3 separate regions of the Homo sapiens genome follow, and regions 1 and 2 are each linked to region 3. The links are contacts of gene promoters, found by promoter capture Hi-C in blood cells and fetal thymus (Javierre and others, 2016). All regions are on one chromosome and are shown on one strand. The core of a region is centred on a gene start or on the middle of the fragment in contact, and the rest is flanking DNA. Distances in the headings are between cores, read along the strand shown.

Evidence for each region. The method cuts DNA at HindIII sites, captures the fragments that hold promoters and counts their contacts. A CHiCAGO score of 5 or more calls a contact.
Region 1: a fragment that was not itself captured here is called in contact with the fragment with the promoter of MERTK in region 3 in 1 of 17 cell types (M2 macrophages); the score reaches 5.2 in M2 macrophages.
Region 2: a contact is called between a fragment that was not itself captured here and the fragment with the promoter of MERTK in region 3, in 2 of 17 cell types (endothelial precursors and megakaryocytes). The highest score is 7.5, in endothelial precursors.

The regions. Positions count from the first base shown.
Region 1 is chr2:112,087,334-112,090,254 of GRCh38, forward strand. TMEM87B (transmembrane protein 87B) reads left to right here. Exons shown (of 19, transcript NM_032824.3): 10 at 2,292-2,385. Among named protein-coding and RNA genes, the nearest start is that of TMEM87B, 34 kb to the left of the region's middle. RefSeq lists an enhancer at 38-127. The HindIII fragment of the contact is 4,356 bases long and covers 1-2,921 here.
Region 2 is chr2:112,103,979-112,106,765 of GRCh38, forward strand. It overlaps TMEM87B (transmembrane protein 87B), which reads left to right. Exons shown (of 19, transcript NM_032824.3): 16 at 2,024-2,097. Among named protein-coding and RNA genes, the nearest start is that of FBLN7, 33 kb to the right of the region's middle. The HindIII fragment of the contact is 2,318 bases long and covers 138-2,455 here.
Region 3 is chr2:111,897,357-111,900,380 of GRCh38, forward strand. It overlaps MERTK (MER proto-oncogene, tyrosine kinase), which reads left to right and starts at 1,251. Exons shown (of 19, transcript NM_006343.3): 1 at 1,251-1,440. The coding sequence starts at 1,380. RefSeq lists an enhancer at 390-719. The HindIII fragment of the contact is 4,607 bases long and covers 1-3,024 here.

The DNA of each region.
Region 1 (2,921 bases), core at 14-2,513, 190 kb after region 3:
TGCTGGCAGTTGTACTCAATCCCCTTGCCACTATTTTCTCACTCTCCTGTCTGCAGAAGACCATTTTACCCCTTTCTCTCAGACTCTACCCTGACCTTCGGTTTTTTTTTCACTGAGGAAGTAGAAGCCATCAGAGGGGAATTCCACTGCATCTGTGCCCCCAGACCCTGTCATTTCCCCCACATCTGGACCGCATGAACCACTTTCCTCTTCTTGATAGTCACGGGCCACCCCTGCCTTTGTGCCCACTCAACTGTGAGGGAAACTGTCCTAGTGCTCGGTTTTGTTTTTTCTTGCATCGTCAGCTTTCCTCTCTGGTGGGTCACCCCCATCAGCATCTCGTTATTTCTACCATTTTTTAAAGTGAAGCCCTCCCTCCACCCCACATGGCCCTCTCCTCCACTTCTGCCTCATTCACCTTTCCCCTGTGCAGCATAACTTCTCACATGAGTAGTCTGTACCTCAGCCTCCCCAGTATTGCTCTATTGAGACTGCTCTTGTCAAGGCCACCATGACCTCACCTGCCATATCACATGGCCCTGCTCAGCCCTCGTCCAGTTGTCCCGTGAGCAGCTTTAAGGAGTGCCAGCTTTGCCTGGTTTCTGGGAGCTCGTCTTCCATCCTCTCACATCACTGGCTACTCCTCCCCAGCCTCCTCTGCTGCACCCTCCTGTGTTCCTGAGCTCCGGCCCCCGGGGGCCCAGGCTCAGGCCTCTGCTCTGTGACTCGCACCCCTAGGCTCTCCTCCTGTGTGCGTGCCCGTTTGCTTGTGAGCTGGGGATTGGGGAGTTAGCAGGATTTTATCCTGGAAGCCTTTATCCCCCTGGACTTTTATTGGAGATTCTTTCTCAAATGCCTTTTGTGTTCTTAGTACAGTGTAGGAAATGAAGGCCTCTTGTTGAGGAATCTTGCAGTACCTTTCACAGCTCTGGTTATGAACATCAGATACCAACAGGTGCAGTGTTGTTACTGTGAAAGGAATAGAAGATTAAATGAATGGGTACAGATACAAACCCTTTTTAAATGAATCCCTTCACTGTTAGCTTGCTCGGCTCAACTCATAAAGTGAGAGCAGTAACAGTTCTGGTTATTTGGAGGTTCTGGTTAGTTGATTATAATGAATCAGAATTTAGATTCCTTAGATTAGGTAAATAGTCTTAATTAAATATGAGCTATGACCACTAACTTAATTTTTTACTTATATTTTGTTTTGAATTGACTATCTTAAATATTTTTTTAAACCAGTTTTTTTCTTCTAATTACTCTGAGAGGAGGGTTTTTGAGCAGCCTTAAATGTATGTGCAATAAATTCTGATTTGCAAATATCATGAAATTATTCTATTTTAAATTATTAATTGCAAAAACCACCATCTTTGTATTTTCCCAACTCAATTATATTTTGAAAGAGCCAAAAAAAATTTTTTTTGTTGTTTTTGTTTTTTTGGAGACAAAAGTCTCACTCTCGCTCAGGCTAGAGTGCAGTGGTGCGATCTTGGCTCACTGCAACCTCTGCCTCCTAAGTTCAAGCGATTCTCGTGCCTCAACCTCCCAAGTAGCTGGCACTACAGGCACGAGCCACCACCCCCGGCTAATTGTTTGCTTTTTTTGGTAGAGACCGGGTTTCACCACGTTGGCCAGTTTGGTCTCGAACTCCTGAGCTCAAGTAATGTGCGTACCTTGGCCTCCCAAGATGCTAGGATTACAGGCATGAGCCACTGCGCCTCGCCCAAAAATGTTATTTTAACTCTTTCAGTTTAAAGAATGAAAATGAAATTCTGTTAGCACTCCTGTTCTGGTTAAGAGCTGGTGATCAGAAAGGAGGTCATGGACTTCCATCTCCTCATGTCCTGCTCTTCCTCTGCCCAAGTCATGAGACAAGTGAATTATCTCTGAAAAGACAGACCTCAGGAAGAATTAAGTTAGACTTCTCAGTGGCACTTAGAAGTTGGCATTTACCTTCCTAGATTTCATCAACCTACTCTTCCATTCTATAGAAACAGTACCTGAATTATATTCATTCTGTTGCTTGAATTTCAGCAGCAAAATCCTCTGGCACCTTTGTGGCCTCCAAATATTGCTTCAAAGGCATCAGTATAGCTTCAGGTCCTAGAGAAAGAGACCCTTTGTTCCTGGGCCTGTTTCCTAAAACAAAGTACCTCAGAGCCGGGAACAGACTGATGTGATTAGATAGTGACTTCCTGGTATTGGAAATGGTGCCAGTTACTGTATTCAGGTGCATTTTACTCACCCATGCTTTTTCTTCTTTCTCTGTTTCCTCTTCCTGATTCCAGGCCTCGTTTAGGAACAGTCATGCACCGGGTGATCGGACTGGGGCTTCTATACTTAATCTTTGCAGCTGTTGAAGGCGTGATGAGAGTCATTGGGGTAAAAACTACATTATTCTACCACCCCTTTTTGTTATTGCTGTGAAATGTGGTTTTACTTTGTATCTCCTGAGATGAATTTTTAGATAGAAACTTGTGAAAAAGGCCCAATTTGAACTTTTCTTCTATGGGATGTTTCCCTTTTAAAATACTTCCTGAAAGGCAAAGGCTAGACAGAGTGCTTCTTAAAATGATATGACTGATTGCGAAGGCACCGCTTGATATCATCCCAGGTATCAGTCCCATCCCAGAAAGGTTCATGGTTGTTCTTCATAGAGAACATTTGTCTTTATCATTATGCAGCTGGTATACCTTAATATCATTCTTAACCCTGGATTTTAAAATGTATCAAGTGAACAGAAAGTTAATTACACCCTTCAGGTATACATACAGTACATTCCATCACTCTTTTAAGTCTCATTTGTTTATTCATTTTCTCTGACTCTTGGGGACTAGCTATTTTGAGGATTCAGTAGACCCCACCATTGGAAAAGCCTAGAGGAAGTGATGTTCAAGGGGAAGATGACTCTGGATGTG
Region 2 (2,787 bases), core at 47-2,546, 210 kb after region 3:
AGGCTTACATGAAGAGAGGATAGTCTTTTTAATAAATGGTACTGGAACAACTGGATAAATGTGTAGGAAAAAAAATCATTAGACTTTTGTTGCACATCTCACAATCAATTCAAGATGGATCACAGACCTAATGGAAAAGCTTCAACTGTTATTCTTCTAGAAGAAAAAAGGAAAATATTTTAATGACGTTGGATGGGGTAATTTCTTAGGACATGAAAAACAGTAACCATTAAATTAAAAAATGAGACTTTATCAAAATTTAAAATCTATGCTCATCAGGAAGAATTTAAGAAAATAAGAAGGCTAGCTACAGTGGGAGATAAAATATTCTCAGTACATATATATCTGACAAAGGGCTTATATCCAGAATATAAGTAGAATTCCTGTAAATCAATAAATGATAACCTATGTTGCAAAAAATGAGCAGAAGACTAGTGTAGACACTTCAAAGAAGACATAGGAATGGCCAATAAACCCGTTAAAAGGTGCTCAATATAATCAGTCATCAGGGAAATGCAAATTAAGACCATAATGAGCTGCCACCACACATCTGCTAGAATGGTTAAAATTAAAAAGTCTGATAGATAGCATGAACTATTGGAGAGGATGTGGAACAGCTGGCTCTCTCATACAGTACTTGAAGGAATGTAGAATAGCATGACCGCTTTAGAAAGCAATGTGACAGCTTCTTACAAAGTTAAGCATATACCTACCATACAGTTCAACTGTTCCACTCTAAGGTTTACCCAGAAAAATGAAGCAGATGTCTACAGAAACACAAGAATGTTTACAGCAGCTTTATTCTTAATAGTCCAAAACTGGAAGTAACACAATTATCTACAAACAGGTGAAAAGATAAATAAATTGCCATATATCCATACAATGGAATACTTTTCAGTAATAAAAAGTAACCAACACTCTATAACATAACTTAATCTCAAAAATGTTTATCTTGCATGAAAGTGTTGCATGATTTAGATGATTATCTAAATCAGAGCAGTGGTTGCTTTTGGTGAGGTGGGGATTGACCAGAAAGGAACTTAAAGAACCTTCTGTGATAATGGAAATGTTAACTGTATTGATTGGCATGGCAGTTACTCAAGTGTATATATTTGTCAGGTTTCTTCAGACTGTACACTTAAAATTTGTAATATATATATATATACACACACACACGCTTCAGTGTTCAAAAATCACTGTATTCCCCTTCTAAGAGAAATGTTGGGGTTTTGAATGTCCCAGGAAAACATTTTTGGATTGAGGAACCTCATTTTTATTTATTACATCAGCTTATGTTATAATTGTTCTAGTTTATGGAGAAGCAATATTTGCAAATTAGTGTAATAACAAAAGTGACTACTTACTGGGCATAGATTGTGTGTCAGGCATTTTATATGTGCTAACTTGTTCAATGGTCACTAGAACTCTATGAGGTAGAAATTATTATTATCCCCAGTTTATAGTCAGAAACACTAAGTCACAGGAAGTTAATTGCCTTGCCCAAGATTCCAGTGAGGCAGACACTTAGCCTTTGCTCCACTGAAACTGCAAACATGCAGAAGAGCCTTGGTCAAATATGAAAGAAATCTTGATCTTTCCTATCTTCTTTATGCCATACGCACATTTCAAAATTTGTACATCAGGGATGTAAAGCATACCCAAAGATGTGTTTTGTTCTTGAATGTACCATGAATCCTGAAGATTTTTAAATCCATAAACTTTAAAATAATTGCAATTAAGGAAATATGTATGCATGTATACTTGTTTAAACTCTAAAACTAGGATTCAAACAAGAAACTTGAAAACCTGGTGGTTCTGACAAATAGTTTCCAAAAATCTGTGAACTTTTTTCATATATTTTTCCTACATTCCCAAATGGTAAATCCAGCATCCTGCCTAAAGTTTCCATTATTAACCCTCCATTTCTAAAAAGATATAGTATTTTTTCTTATCAGATTATTAAATTTCTAAAGGAAAATATTATTTTGTGATTTTATATATATGTTTATAATGTCTCTCGTAGCCGAAGGAATAAAATTAAGAGCCTCAAAATCAGTTTCCAATGGAACAGCTAAGCCTGCCACTTCTGAGAACTTTGTGAGTATGGTATATATTTAGTACAATCTTAGTCTTCCTTAGTCTTCACTACTTTAGAGAGCTATACGAGTGTCATATTCATTGACTCTCAGAAGAACAGTTTTTACTAAGATTTTGTTGTTGTTGTTATAAAAATTAGTGTTGCCAAGTGCCAAGTAGCAATCCTGGTTGTCCATAACTGAAATACCTTCATTGTAGATCTCACTTCTCACCTGCTGTTCCTAGGCCAGCAGCATGAGCATCATCTGGGAACTTGTTAGAGATGCAGAGTCTCAGGCCTACCCCGGACGCTCCTGAATTGGAATCTGCTTTTTGAAAAGATTCCATAGCCTGTTCATCTGCACATTCGAGATGGGAAAGCTTTGTTCCAATAAAAGCTTGTGTTAACTTTTCAGCCTATGAAAGTGATTTTTGAAGCCATTTTAAAATAACATTTGTTATCTGTTGGTAAAGAACTTTATGTGTTACCTACACGGTTACCAAAATTAACAGATTTTTTTTTTTTTTGAGGTGGGAAGCTTGAATAAAATTGTAAAACATTGGGCAGAGATGAGCTAAAAAATATTTTCTGCATGTTATTTATGCATAAAAATGTTTTTGAAGACAACAATGTAAAATGGAAATGTCTATCATATAGTTTTATACTTTCCTTATAACTATATGTGCTGTGATTAATACTATGTAAAAATT
Region 3 (3,024 bases), core at 1-2,500:
TTGCTGTCGGTGTAAGTAATAACCTGTCTAAACCCATCTGGGCTGCCTGTCTCCTTCCCGTAGCCAAATCTACGGGAAGTGTCCAGCCAGTGTAGGGGTCAAGGGACCGCTTGACGAGACCAACGTAAATTGAAGAGGCGTAAGGAGATGAGGCCAAAGAGGAAAGGGGACCAGGTCACGTAGAACCTCGTAGACCACTGCAGAACCTTGGCTTACGTACGCAGAGACAGCAGGAACCACTGATAGGTTTAGGGAGATTTGAGGAGAGGGACATGATTTGGCTTATGTTATGTTGTTAAAGGGACCACATTAAAATACATTCATTCTAAAAGTGTTACCTTTAAGAAACTACGTATATAAATTAAGTTACTGTTGCCATTATTAGCGTAAGTAGTTACATTTCTCTTACGACTCACTCTCTGCTACTGCCTCTTGGACCCTGCACACCTTGTGGAGGCCCATGAGAGTGACGTGCTGTGGTTCCCCCTCTCCCCACTCCTGCTCTGCACTTTGTCATTCACGTTCATCTCCCTCCTTGAGTGTCACCTCTCTCTGGCTCGTCACGGAGCCACGGCAAAGCGTCCTTTCCCAGGAACCCCTCCCCCTGGGGAGGTGAGCTCCTCGCCGCCAGGGCCGTGTCGCGCACCTCGGGCCGGGTACCCAGGCGGCGCTCGGCGGCGAGCGGAATGGATGTGGAGGAGCGCTCGGCAGGGAGCGCTGCCGCCCTGGCCTTGGCCTCTGGGAGCGGCGCGGCCAGGGTTTTCTGTGTCAGCCAAGCCCGGAATGCGGGGGCGCCTCTGGACCCTCCTCTTGGGTCTGGGGGCTGCCTCGGGCATCCTCTACTCCTCTCCCACCTTCTGTCCTTCCCCATCTCCCACCCACACGTGTGGGGCCCCGGACCCGCGCAGCGGCCAGAGCCTTCCGCTGTGGACCTCCAGTCCACCCCTCCCCTTCACTTCTCTTTCCGGCTCCCTCCGGGTCTCTCAGCCCCCTCCCCTTCCTCTCCGCCCCCTTCCCCGCCGTCTGCCCAGCGGCGGCCTTCGGCCCGCCCCTTCTCTCCAACCCCCTCCCTTTCCCCTTTACGCCCCTCCTCCCCCTCGTCCTCCCGCCCCCTCCCACCCCAACCTGCTGGGCCCGCCGGGACTCGCCCCCCTGCCCGCTCCTCTCCTCCAGCCCCGGCCGGCCTCGGCTCGGCCCCCGGCCCGCCCCTTCCAGCCCTCGGCACCTCCCGCCGGCCGCTTGGCTCCGCCACTCGGCACTCACTGCCCGGGCCGCCCGGACAGGGAGCTTCGCTGGCGCGCTTGGCCGGCGACAGGACAGGTTCGGGACGTCCATCTGTCCATCCGTCCGGAGAGAAATTACAGATCCGCAGCCCCGGGATGGGGCCGGCCCCGCTGCCGCTGCTGCTGGGCCTCTTCCTCCCCGCGCTCTGGCGTAGAGGTGAGTGCGCCCGGCTGGGGGCCAGGCGAGGGGGTGGGGGCTCCCAGGAGGAAGCAGGGGCCTCTGGGGAGGGAGCGCGTCCACAGGGGCGCGCCTGGCTGCTGGACAAGTTTGCAAACACCCTCCACCCACTGCGGTGCCAGAGGAGGGGGCGTAGGCGAACCTACCGTCCACTGACCGCGGCGCCTCAAGCGTCCCGAGGGCACCCAGCCTGGCTTGCGGGTGCGCATCGTGGTGAAGCCGGGTCGGGGTCGGCGTTGCAGGCTCCCCTCTTCACCGCAGAGGAGGAAATCGAGCTCGGCCGGGCGCGCTGCAAGTCCTGAAGTTCCGACGAGTGGAACGTAGGTAGCAGGTCTGGTCTGGGATGCGACGAGAACTTTCCACTAGAGTTGCATGGTGGGGCCCCGCTCTGGCCGGAGTCCCGGGGGCCACAGATCCGGTCTCCCGAGGGACCGGCGCGGGGCGAACGAACGGGCTGCGGGAGTCGGAGCCGCAGTCCGGGAGCCGCGATAGACTGAGGCCGAGCGACGGGCCAGGGGGGGACGGCAGTCCTGGCTGCTCCCAATGGGCCCTTACGGGCATTATTAGTATCCCTTTTTAGGGGCACCCAGAGAGTGTGGGAAAAGGGGAGCGTTCTTTTCACTCCTGTTATGGCAGAACAGAACTTACAGTGCTCGGCAGCGTTTACGTTTATCTGGATTCAGCGAAGTGTTGTTACAGGCTTTTTTTTTTTTAATTTGAGACCGAGTCTCGCCCTGTCGCCCAGGCTGGAGTGCCGCGGCGCGATCTCGGCTCACTGCAGGCTCCGCCTCCCGGGTTCAAGCGATTCTCCTGCCTCAGCCTCCCGAGTAGCTGAGACTATAGACGCGCGCTACCACGTCCGGCTAATTTTTGTATTTTTAGTAGAGACGGGGTTTCACCATGTTGGCCAGGATGGTCTCGATCTCTTGACCTCGTGATCTGCTCTCCTTGGCCTCCCAAAGTTCTGGGATTACAGTCGTGAGCCACCGCGCCCGGCTTGTTCCAGGCATTTTAATACAAGATGCTGGACTGATACGTGGAGGCAAGGAAGGCCGGTTTCATTCTGCTTGAACAGCTTATTTGGGGAGTGAGTGATGAACAGATTTCAAGTTTGATCGCTGATGCACTTCTTGAGGAGGCTGGAATAAACTTACCAGGCTTTACCCAAAAGAAAAAGAAAGGGGAAAAATGCTAAATAAACACATTCCAAGTATTTTCTCTCAGCTAAAAGGTTTCTATTTCCATTCAGCATGTAGATTTTCTCTCTTTTGATCGAGAATGCACTTGACTAGCCTTCACCTATTACAGTCAAAGATGTTTTTTAGGAATACCTGGAAAGCTCAGTTTATAGTCAAGTAAGTTACTTAAAAGTTTTTCCTTTGAGATTTTCCTTTGAAAGCTCATTTACTCAAATGAAAAATTCTTAAACAGTGCACCCACTTTTTGCACGTTAAATTACATAAGCAATTTATAATTTGGGGCAACATAGCAATTTGAAACAAACTTTAAGAGCCAGGCAAAGAACTAAAGCAGTTCTGTTCTCCACTGCCCCTCCCTCCACCA